Linked DNA regions of Homo sapiens: all the other regions are linked to region 3. Evidence: promoter capture Hi-C in human tissues and cell types (Jung and others, 2019). All regions are on one chromosome and are shown on one strand. The core of a region is centred on a gene start or on the middle of the fragment in contact, and the rest is flanking DNA. Distances in the headings are between cores, read along the strand shown.

The links. Contacts are between HindIII fragments. The study calls those that stand out against the background at their distance.
Region 1: a contact is called between a fragment that was not itself captured here and the fragment with the promoter of RUFY1 in region 3, in 1 of the 25 tissues and cell types used here (lymphoblastoid cells).
Region 2: the fragment with the promoter of HNRNPAB here is called in contact with the fragment with the promoter of RUFY1 in region 3 in 1 of the 25 tissues and cell types used here (dorsolateral prefrontal cortex).

Annotation. Positions count from the first base shown.
Region 1 is chr5:178,282,617-178,286,492 of GRCh38, reverse strand. The region is part of intron 5 of COL23A1 (collagen type XXIII alpha 1 chain); the gene reads left to right. Among named protein-coding and RNA genes, the nearest start is that of PHYKPL, 52 kb to the right of the region's middle. RefSeq lists an enhancer at 1-401. The HindIII fragment of the contact is 7,014 bases long and covers 1-3,876 here.
Region 2 is chr5:178,202,073-178,205,994 of GRCh38, reverse strand. HNRNPAB (heterogeneous nuclear ribonucleoprotein A/B) reads right to left here and starts at 1,462. Exons shown (of 8, transcript NM_031266.3): 1 at 1,255-1,462; 2 at 949-1,180; 3 at 1-153. The coding sequence starts at 1,157. RefSeq lists silencers at 489-898, 929-1,038, 1,059-1,278, 1,579-1,648. The HindIII fragment of the contact is 21,768 bases long and covers 1-3,922 here.
Region 3 is chr5:179,548,247-179,551,951 of GRCh38, reverse strand. It overlaps RUFY1 (RUN and FYVE domain containing 1), which reads right to left and starts at 1,398. Exons shown (of 18, transcript NM_025158.5): 1 at 1,073-1,398. The coding sequence starts at 1,382. All of the region lies in intron 4 of LOC128966623 (a long non-coding RNA gene), which reads right to left. It overlaps LOC105377762 (a long non-coding RNA gene), which reads left to right and starts at 1,448. Exons shown (of 4, transcript XR_941315.4): 1 at 1,448-2,008. RefSeq lists a silencer at 764-1,473. The HindIII fragment of the contact is 12,755 bases long and covers 1-3,705 here.

The DNA.
Region 1 (3,876 bases), core at 518-3,017, 1.3 Mb after region 3:
TCGGGAATTAAAGACGAAGCTGAGTGTGGGGGTGGTATCGGGCTCCCTCACACCTGGGCCTGGCCTGGAGAAGGGGCGCTGTGACTGTCGGGGCTGGGAACGGAGAGAAGGATGTGTGTGGAGCCCCGCGGGCGTCCCTCAGGCTTGACACTGGGAGCTTTCTTGGAAGGAAGAGAGCTGGGGTCCAGCAAGCCCCCCCACTTCCTCTGTGTAGGCAGCTCTGGCAGCCGTGCCCCTGGTCCTACCAGCAGCTCCCCAGTCACTGGGAGGCCTGAGCAGGCTGGGCCTGGTGAGGGATGAGGGCACCCTGTCAACGTCTCCAGGAAGCTGGTATCACAGCCCATGATGGCCTTCTTCCTGAGGTCGCCCAGCCCCAGCTTACACACAGACCCCCATTTCCACACGGAGGTAGGCGTCTTCCCTGGGTGGGCTGGATTCAGGGCGTTCACGTCGCCAGCACCAGGAGCAAGACCAGCTGTGTGCCTCCAGACCCCTCGTTCTCACACCACCACCTGGGCCACTCCTTCCGTGAGACCCACAGGGTGGGGCAGACACCCCGCTCAGCTTCCCCATTCGAGGAAGGGGAGGACCTTTCGCAGGCTCCTGGGGCCCAGTCCTGAGTGGAAATTCCTATCTCTTGGCCTGTGGAGGACAGGAGGGCTCTGCCCGGCTCTCAGCCTGGGGTATATTTGCAGATGGCTCCATGTGGTCATCCCAGAGGCTGGGGTGACTGCCTCGTGCTGAAGGGCCTGGGCCACCTCGGAGGCCCCTCATGTGCAGAGGATCACCGTGGCTTTGAGTCAGTCACCTGTGTGGACTTGGGCAGGCTACTTGGGCCTGGGGAGATCACACCTGCAGAGCGGGGTTAACTGAGTGTGAGACACAGAGGCCATTTCCAGTCCTGTGTGTGGCAGCCCTTCTATAAATATCACTGTCTTTCCTCATCGTTGACAGTCTCAATAGAAGAAAAGATGGGTTTCAGAAATCATTCTAACCTACTCAGTATAAATTTGCAATATTTGGAAAGAAAAACACCTTTGAGAATGGTCGGTTTTAGAAAAAGCATTTTTTGGTTTTTTGTTTTGTTTGTTTGTTTTTTGTGTTTTTTTGTAGCTTAGTAAACTTCAGGACCAGCCTCAGGGAGGACTTACTTTTTTCTCTTTGTGCCAATATCTTATCACTTTCTAAGAGCAAGGATAGAGTCTGGCAGGAGACTCTGGTGGTGGAGACTGTCGGTGCTTTTCTGGATTAACTCAGGCCAGCTGCCTCAGCTGAAACCAGGTCCATGTGTGGACCTGATAGGAGTGGCTGGAGGACACGGGGCATAGGGGCCACCCACATCTGTGGGGCAGGTTGTGGACTTGAGGAAGTCAGAGCCGACAAGGGCCCGGCTCGCCCTGTCCATGCCCTCCGTGTACAGAGGCTGGCCTGTCCTCTCTGCTCCCGAGGATGCATTAACAGCCTCTTCTGATTACAACAAAAAGCATGTTTATTGTAAAACATTTGGACAATGGAGAAAAACACAAGGAAAAAGCATCTCTAATTCTGCCACTCACAGATAAGTCCTCTTATCTTGGTGGTGGTTCTAGTATTTCTTATATCCAAGTTTGCTTTTATATTTATTGCTTTAAAAATAGAATTACAAGTGCCTTCTTAGTGCAGTGGGCAGCACGTCAGTCTCATAATCTAAAATACAATTACATTGGACATACTTTTTTGTACTATTTTTTTCACTAAATATAGCATGAGACTTTTCTGCATCATTAAAAATCCTTAGAGAATGTAATGGCTACATTGTATTTGATCCGATATATCATTTATTTAGTCTCAAAGTTAAATTATTTATATTGACAATTTTTCACCCTTACAGTCAACATCCTGGGAATAAATATAGCTTATTTCCATGATTATCTCCTTAGAATAAATGACTAAAAGTGGAATTGCTGCACCAAAGGGTTTGCACATGTGTAAGGCTTTTGATGTGTATTGCCAAATTGCCCTCCAGGAGACTGTACTAATTTACATTCCCACCAACAATGAATAAATGCTGTCTATTTCCCCAAATGCTGGCCAACTGTGGGTATTACACTTTTAAAGCTATGCCAATATAAGTTTTAAAATATATACATATATGTATGAATATTGTTTTAATTTAGGGCATATTTTAATTAGAACTAGTCAGAGATTAAACTAGTTTTGATAAGGTTTGTGTAATCCTGTCACCTCGTGGTAAAGGTTGGAATTGCAGGCATAGAGTTTAAAGAGGAAATCACCCGTGTTTAAGAGCTTTTGGATCCCAACTGGTCCAGGGACGGAAGACATCATAGAATCAACAGCATAGGGATAATTCCTAACTCAGAACATTGTGGATCAAAAGTTGAGCCTTCAGAGGAGCCCTAGGCACGGCACTCTTGCATTTTGGGGTAGTAATCAGTATTTATGTGGATAAAGTGATTTGCCCATCTCAGAAATAGGAGGCTTGGCTGTGTTCAACAAATCTGGTGGGTGTCATACCCTGGCCTGGGCACTGGGGTGGCACAAAGATGGATCAGGCCCAGTCACAGTCTTTAGAGAACCATATGGGAATGGGAGTTTGCCCTGGGATAGAGAGGAATGAATAATTAGAAGCTCAATGTCATCTTCCCGGAGGTATCTTGTTTATCATGAGCGCTTTTTCCTCTCTAAACTGTGGCATCTGACTAAGATGAAACCACCTGTCACTCATGCAGGGCTTAATCTTGCCTGAACTTTGACTTACACAGAAAACATTAGACTTTCTCATCATCTCCTATTTACAATGTCACAATGTTTGCTTTTCCTCTTCTTTGGTAGTTTGATTGTCTTAACTCTTAACATTAAGCTTTAGTGACTTTCTGGTTTGTTTTACACATTCAGAAAGCTATTTAAACATTTCTTCGATATCATTTAATGTACTTACAAGAGAATAAAACAAGGATGTGATGAGAGTGTTGGCTGGGTGAATGGACAGGTATAATTTGGATTAAATAATCAGAAGGTTCTTGAGGAAAGTAACATTGAAGTGAGATTTAAATGATGAAAAAGCTGCAGAGATCTTGGGGGAGATCCCGGCAGAGGAAAAAGCAAGTGCACAGGTCATGAAGTTGGAGCAAGCTTTGTGTGTTCAGGTACACTCAAGGTCAGTGTGGCAGGAGTGAGTGAGCAGGTGACAGGAAACGATAGGAAGTGAAGCCAAAGAAGCTCCCAGAGCTGCACCAAGTAGAACCAAGACAGAGGCGAGGGCTGGGGGATGGAACTTGACTCTGTGTTTATAGAAATCACTTGTCCCGGCCGGGCGCGGTGGCTCACGCCTGTAATCCCAGCACTTTTGGAGGCCAAGGCGGATGGATCACTTGAGGTCAGGAGTTCAAGATCAGCCTGGCCAATACGGTGAAACCCTGTCTCTACCAAAAAAAATAAAAATAAAAATACAAAAACTAGCCAGGTGTGGTGGTACATGCCTGTAGTCCCAGCTACTTGGGAGGCTGAGGCAGGAGAATCACTTGAACCCAGGAGGCAGAGGTTGCAGTGAGCCAAGATTACGCCACTGCACTCCAACCTGGGTGACAGAGCAGAGCGAGACCATGTCTCAAAAAAAAAAGAAAAAAGAAAAATCACTTGTCCCCAGAGATAGACTGCCAAGGGGTTGGAGATCCCCCACTCATGGTGCTTCCTTTGGGAACAGAGAAGAAAAGACTGTCACCCTTCATCTCCCAAAGCCCTTCCAATGTGCCAGGGAAGCAGGTGCAAGTATTGAGTGCTTGCTGGGTGCGCACTCATGCATGCCGTCTCACCATGGGAGGCTAGTGGTTTCAACCCTACCTGACAGATGAGAAATCTGAGCTCAGAGGGTGACAG
Region 2 (3,922 bases), core at 213-2,712, 1.3 Mb after region 3:
GCATCTTTGAACAGGATAAACCCAAACCCTCTTGACCGTCCAGTGTTGGGATCCATTTTTATTGTACAGTCAACGACCTCTCCAAATTTAGTAAAATAGTCTTTTAAATCTTTTTTGCTAGTATCCCAGCTCAGGCCACCAACGAACATTTTTCTGAAATGGTAGGGTGAGACACACGGCAACAAGTCTTGTAAGCAAGCTGTGATTTTGGAAAGGACTGGCCCTGGCAAAGTTCTCACGAAGTCTACAGCTACCCTTAGAGTCTGCAAGGAGCACCTTAGAAAGATGTTAAATCTCCACTACCCTCCAAATTGAACTCAACCAGGACCCTAACGAGGCTTAACAAGGCTCTGCAGCCCCAGCCTGTGAGAAGCAAAGAAGGGACCACCTCACCAGGGGTATGGGACCTAACCACTCATAACTGGAAATTCATGTGTTCTACAACCATGTAGCAAAGGGCCAGCGTCTCCACCAACTCCTGAGAACTCGTTTCAAGGAACTCGATGTTTCCGGGGACCAAGCCCGCCCAGGGTTCAGACCGTGACTCCGCCCCCGGGAGAGGCGGAGGAGGGAGGTCCGGGCCCCGGCTCGCGCCAACTCCGCCCACGCAGCCGCCGGCGCGGCCCAAGACGCCGCCGGGCCCCGGGTCCGAGCGCTTTCCCTCTTCCGGGCCATCCGCCCGCCCCTGCGCCGGCTCCGGCCCTGGCCCTGGCCCTGGCAGCGCGCGAGCGGCCCCGGGGCGGCGCCAAAGTCGACCCAACAAACTCCCGCAAACTCCAGCGCGAGTGGCAGCGCCAGGCCCGGCCCGCGAACGCAGCGGCGACAGTCCGCGGGCCGCACCAGCCCCGACCCGGGCCAGGCCGCCGCCCCTCCCCCCGCCGCGTGGCGCCAACAAAAGGCGGCCCCGGAACAAAGGCGGCGCCCCCGTCCGCCCGCGGCCGCACCTACCCCGCGTCCTCCTCGTTCTTGCTGGCGTTGATCTGGTCGCCCTCGGCGCCGTTCTGATTCCCGCTCGGGGGCGCCGCGGTCGCGCCTCCAGCCCCCGCCGCGGCGCCCGTGCCAGCCCCGGCCGGCGACTCGCCTTCGGGGACGGCCTCATGTCCGTTCTCGGTGGCGCCCGTCGTCTCCATGGGCTGCTCCTCGCCCGCTTCCGACATGCTAGGCCGAGGCGCGGCGGCTCCTGCAACCAGCGGCGACAGCGCGTCAGGCCGGCGCGGCTCCCGCCAGAGCTCCCGCCCGCCGGCCGCCGCTCACCTCGCCGCCGATGACGCCGCGGGGCCCGCTCGTCCCCACCCGCAGGGGAAGGCGCCGCAGGCTCGGCCGCACTCAAGCTCGCGCTGCTGAGGCCTCGCCCCAGTCAGCCCACGGAGCTGCTCCAACTGTGTCTCCTCCTCCTTGGCCGCCGCCGCACGGGAACCCACCGACCAACAGCCAAGCTCCGTCCCGCGCGGTGCCGCCGCCTGACAATGCCGACTCGTGGCGCCCTTTATAATGCCGGAGCCGGGTGCCACATCGCAACAAACTGCACACTCATTGGCTGCTCAAGTCCGTCACTCAACCTAGCTTCAGCGTCCCATTGGCCGCCACGGCGCGCGCGCTCTAGACCTGGGCGGGCTTTGTCCTCATTTTAGAACGCGCGCGAGTCCGGCCGCTACGGAGGGCTCCCGAAGCCGGGCGGGACGGCGCCGGGTCCAGGGCGGCGGGCAGCTACAGCACATCGGTGGGAGGGCCTAATCGGATTGTAAGCTCGTCGAGGCCGCTGGTCTCTTGCTCTCGAGGACTCCATCCCAGCATTGGCAGCCTCCGCCTCCCCATGTCCCAAAAGAGGAAACTGGGCTGGAGAAAGTTTCGCAGCCCAAGGACGCGTGGCTGGAAGTGGCAGAACCCGGGCTTCCGAGGTTGGGCGAGTGGGGTCCTCCAAGGCCCTCAGCACGGGTCGGAGGGATTGGGACTGAACCCGCCATCCCCCTGGACCTTGGTGCCCTCCAAGCCCCGCGCTCGCGCCCTGTCCGTCGCCTCCCCCAGAGATGCTCTGCAGGGACGATGAGACCTTGGTGTTCCCCGGTTCTCTGTCCCCTGGCACCACCTGAACGATTGACATCGCATTTGTACTTTTGTTTACTTAAATTTTTTCCTGTAAATCATTTGTCTTTCTTTTTCTTCCTTTTTATTATTTTTTTTTTTTTGATGGAGTCTTGCTCTTGTCGCCCAGACTGGAGTGCAATGGCGCGATCTCGGCTCACCGCAACCTCCGCCTCCCGGGTTCAAGCGATTCTCCTGTCTCAGCCTCCCGAGTAGCTGGGATTACAGGCATGCGCCACCACGCCCGGCTAATTTTTTTGTTTTTTTAGTAGAGACGGGGTTTCACCATGTTGGCCAGGATGGTCTCGATCTCCTGACCTCGTGATCCGCCCGCCTGGGCCTCCCAAAGTACTGGGATTACAGGCGTGAGCCACCGCGCCCGGCCTTTTTTTTTTTTTTTTTTTTTTTAAACAAATACGGAGGCCGGGCGCGGTGGCTCCCGCCTGTACTCCCAGCACTTTGGGAGGTCCAGGCGGGCGGATCACGAGGTCAGGAGATCGAGACCATCCTGGCGAACATGGTGAAACCCCGTCTCTACTAAAAATACAAAAAAATTAGCCGGGCGTGGTGGTGGGCGCCTGTAGTCCCAGTTACCGGGAGGCTGAGGCAGGAGAATGGCGTGAACCCGGGAGGCGGAGCTTGCAGTGAGCCGAGATCTCGCCACTGCACTCCAGCCTGGGCGACAGAGCGAGACATCGTCTCAAAAACAAAACAAAACAAATACACCACTCGTGAACTCACGAGGTAAAGGACAGGGTGGGGGCGTTGTTCTCTTCCTAATACACAAAACTCCTTTATATTATCTCCTTGACCACAAAATTTTAAAGGCCTCGGTAATCCCGTTATTCCTTTTAATCATATGGGTGGTGGGCCCCAAGGCAAGCAGGATTACAACCTCTGGAGCCTGCAGGTTACCAAATAGCAACCCAGAACACAAGGAACTAGCGTTTCCAGTGGATTCCTGCAGCCAGGACCAGTGTGGTGGGCTGGGCATTCCATTTTCTCTTCTGTATCTTAACAACCAAAGTAAGGTGGTATGGTCACCAATTTTATTTATTTTATTTTTTGACACAAGGTTTTGTTCTGTAACCCAGGCTGGAGTCCAGTGGCACGATCACGGCTTACTGCAGCTTCAACCTCCCGGGCTCAAATGAGCCTCCTGCCTCAGCCTCCCAAGTAGCTGGAACCAGAAACGTGGCCACCACGCCAAGCGAATTTTTTGTAAACACAGGGTCTCCCTATGTTGCCCAGCTAGATCACCAGGTTTTTTTTTTCTTTGAGACGGGGGTCTCGCTCTGTCGCCCAGGCTGGAGTACAGTGGAGCCATCTCAGCTCACAGCAACCTCCACCTCCCAGGTTCTAGCGATTCTCCTGCCTCAGCCTCCTGAGTAGCTGGGATTGCAGGTGTGTTCCACCATGCCGGGCTAATTTTTGTATTTTTAGTAGAGATGGGGTTTTACCATGTTGACCAGGCTGGTCTTGAACTCCTGATCTCAGGTGGATCACCAATTTTAAATGAGAAAACTGAAGTCAAGAGCAGCGGCCCAAAGCTACACAACCAACTCAGGCACTAACTCCACCCAGGCACTGGAGTTGCCCTGAGAATGAAAAATGAAGATACGTGGATTTCAGGCTTCTCTAGGAAAGTCCGAAGATTTAGCTCACACTGTACTGCCTTCCCCCAAAGTAACAATCAAGTGCAGCTGGGATACCCATACCCAGGTGGGCAAGTGCCCTCTGGTTCACCCCAAGGCCACTCTTCACTGTCCCAGGCTAATTCCATAACAGGAAGTCACATATTTCCACACGACCTTACTCATGTCACTGAGATCTGGCAGCA
Region 3 (3,705 bases), core at 149-2,648:
CCTCGTGATCCACCCGCTTCGGCCTCCCAAAGTGCTGGGATTACAGGCGTGAGCCACCGCTCCCGGCCGAGGAACTCAATTTTTAATTCAATTTAAAAGTACTGAATTTCAATTGATTCAGTTAGAAATTGAGGAATCCGGCCGGGCGCGGTGGCTCAAGCCTGTAGTCCCAGTACTTTACGAGGCCGAGGCAGGTGTATCACAAGGTCAGGAGTTCAAGACCAGCCTGGCCAAGATGGTGAAACCCCGTTTCTACTAAAAATATGGGAGGGGGGTGGGGGCGGGGAACTTAGCCGAGCGTGGTGGTGGGCACCTGTAATCCCAGCTACTCGGGAGGCTGAGGCGGGAGGGAGGATCGCTTGAACCCGGGAGGCAGAGGGTGCAGTGAGCCGAGATCGCACCACTGCACTCCAGCCTGGGCGACAGAGCAAGACCCGGTCTCAAAAAAATAAAAATAAATAAAAACAAAAACACACACACAAAAACATATGCGTGCTGTTGTATTGGATAGCACAGCTCTGGATGTCTGGCGTTAGAGGGCTAAGTTACTTAACTCTTACTATCACTGATATGCTGGCACTCTGTTCATTACAAGGGCTGAAAAGGTCTTTAAGAGATCATCGGGTGACTTTAAAATCCCCATCTCACAGGCAGAGGTGAGCGGAGGCGCCGCTGGTCCGCTGCGCGCAGGGCCCACGCCCTCCCAACACCCGCCGGCGCTCCACTCCCGCACTGAACGGCTGAAAAGCAGAACAGTGCTGGCTCCGTTTCGTGTGTGGAGTTACTACAGAGTTCCGAAGCCCGGACGCGCACACGTCCTTCACCTAGTTAGTGGGAGAGCATAGAGGCGCGGGTGCGGGAGCGCGCTCAGGCACGCGGGGCTGCGGGGGGCGGTCTCGGCTGGGCCGCCGGAGTAAAGACCCAGGCGCAGCCAGGCGCCGCCCGCCCGCCAACAGCTCGCGTAACCTCCCGGAACGGCCAGTGCCCTCCCAGCCCGGCCCCCACCGCGCCCGCGCCGGCGGCCAGCGGGGACACGCGAGTCCGCCGCGGGACAGACCCGGCCCGAGCCTACCTGCGCGCGCCGTGCCGTCCCCGCTGTCCCCGCCGCCCAGCCCCGCGGCCGCGCGCAGCGCGCTCCCGCAGCTCGCCGACAGGTTCCCGGTGGCCCTGCGTGCCAGGGTCAGGATGGGCGCCGACCAGCCCTCGGCCGCCCGCGGCCTCGTTGCGCTCCGCAGGTCGCCTGGGCCGGGCAGCTGGCTTCGGTCCACGATCTCAAACTCTTCTCCCGGCTCAAGCGCTGACCCGGGCCCCGGCCCCGGCTCCAGCTCCGGCTCCAGCTCCCGCCCCCGCCCAGCAGCGCAGCCGCCTTCCCGGTCGGCCATCTTGGCCGTGTCATGTGACCCAGCGGGCGGGCGGGCGCGGGGTGGGGGCGGGCGGGCATCGCCTTTGCCTTAGGTGGGGGAGATTTTTCTCCCTCTTCACCGCCTCGCCTTCCCTCTGTTTCGAAAGGTTCGGGAAAGTCCAAGTCATAACATAAAAAGTGTGCGTATTCCCGGCCGCCGGCAGGACCTGTTCGCGGGGAAGTTCCTCTTGAACTTTCTCCGAGGACAGTTGTGCACCCTGCCCGGCGCTTCACGGGGTTCCCTGGCCGTCGTTGTCTTTGTGACACCATTTCCTCTTTTAAATTTTCATTTCATGGTCTATATTTTCCACTTCGTCATTTTTCTGTAGCACTCATTAGAACAAGCCCCGAAAGGGCGACTAAGGAAACGCACAGGCGAGGCAGGAAAGCAGGAATTTTTTTTTTTTTTTAATCTAATGACTATGACGGCTTGGCAAGAAAGAGTGCACGATAGTGGACTGGAAATCAGAGGTGGCTTCTCCTATTGATTAGTTAAGTGGGATAACAAAAACCGACCTCATTATTAAATAAGATTTGCAGTAAGGACCACATGGCAGATGTTAGCGATTGTGACTACTATCTCTGGTATCCAACTGTGTGGCCTGGGTAAGTCACTATACACTCAGTCTGTTTCTTCACTTGGAAAAGAAAGGAATTTGAGTAAGTACAAAGGAAAATTTTGGCCGGGCGCGGTGGCTCACGCCTGTAATCCCAGCACTTCGGAAGGCCCAGGCGGGCCTTTAGTAGGACGAAACCCCGTCTCTACTAAAATACCAAAACAACAACAACAACAACAACAAAAAACCAGCCAGATGTCGTGGCGGGACAGCTCTACTCCTAGCTCCTTGGGGGGCTGAGAGTGGGAGGATCGCTTGAGCCCGGGAGGTCGATCCCACAGTGAGCGGAGATCATGGCCACTGCACTCCAGGCTGGGCGACAAAGTGAGACCCTGTCTCAGAAAAAACACTAAAATTTACTAGCACTTAACACTTTGCAAAGTGAGGCAACATGAGCCACACCAAACCAGCAGAGCTGTTTTGATTCCCAGAATGTTTACAAATCTTAAAACTTGTTGCCAATATTTAGAAATCAAAAGATTTCACATAAGAATCTGGATTTTAGCTTTCTCTGGAATCACTGGAATATTTGGTAACTCATGGCATATTCCCAGATGGCAACAAACTGTTGGGAATAAACTGTGCTGCCCCTTTAGACGCCCAGCTGCTCCCTGGACCTGTCTTGGTCCAGCCCACTTCACTAGGTTGCATGATATGTCTGGTCCCTGAAAGGCCAGTTCTCAGTGAAGGGATACCACTTCATCTAGGAGTGTTTTGGGAATTTGTGGAGTTGGTGTTTGAGTTGTGTAATGACTGAGGGCATACTACCAGTCTTTTTTGTTTGTTTGTTTTCGTACGGAGTCTCGCTCAGTCGCCCAGGCTGGAGTGCAGTGGCGCGATCTCGGTTCACTGCAAGCTCCACCTCCCGGGTTCACGCCATTCTCCTGCCTCAGCCTCCCGAGTAGCTGGGACTACAGGTGCCCGCCACCACGCCCGGCTAATTTTTTTTTTTTTTTGTATTTTTAGTAGAAACGGGGTTTCACCGTGTTAGCCAGGATGGTCTTGATCTCCTGACCTCGTGATCCGCCAGCCTCGGCCTCCCAAAGTGCTGGGATTAGAGGCGTGAGCCACCACGCCCGGCCTGGTCTTGTTTGTTTGTTTGTTTTTGAGGCCAAGTCCTGCTCTGTCACCAAGCTGGAGTGCAGTGGCGCAATCTCGGCTCACTGTAACCTCTGCCTACCGGGTTCAAGCGATTTTCCTGCCTCAGCCTCCCAAGTAGCTGGGACTGCAGGGGCGTGGCGCCACACTTGGCTAATTTTTGTACTTTTAGTAGAGACGGGGTTTCACCATGTTCGCCAGGATAGTCTCGATCTCTCGACCTCGTGATTCCCCCGCCTCGGCCTCTCAAAGTGTTGAGATTACAGGCGTGAGCCACTGAGCCCGGCCCTACTAGTCTTTACTGGATGCATAGACAGGGATGAAGATAGTCTAGAATAACAGCATTGTCCCGAATCCTTCATGACTTTCCAATGCTACTGGACATTTATGTAGGTGAAAAGTTTGTTTATAATGATCAGGGCGTGGAACCGAATTCCATTTTGTATAAAAACATTAACTCTTTTTTGGGGGAACAGTTTCAACATTTATCAGGCAAGGTTATTCTTCAGTAACAACCCCCAAATCTCAATGGCTTAACCTAAAAGCTGGTTTCTCATCATGCTACATGTCAATGTAGATGGGGTGAGT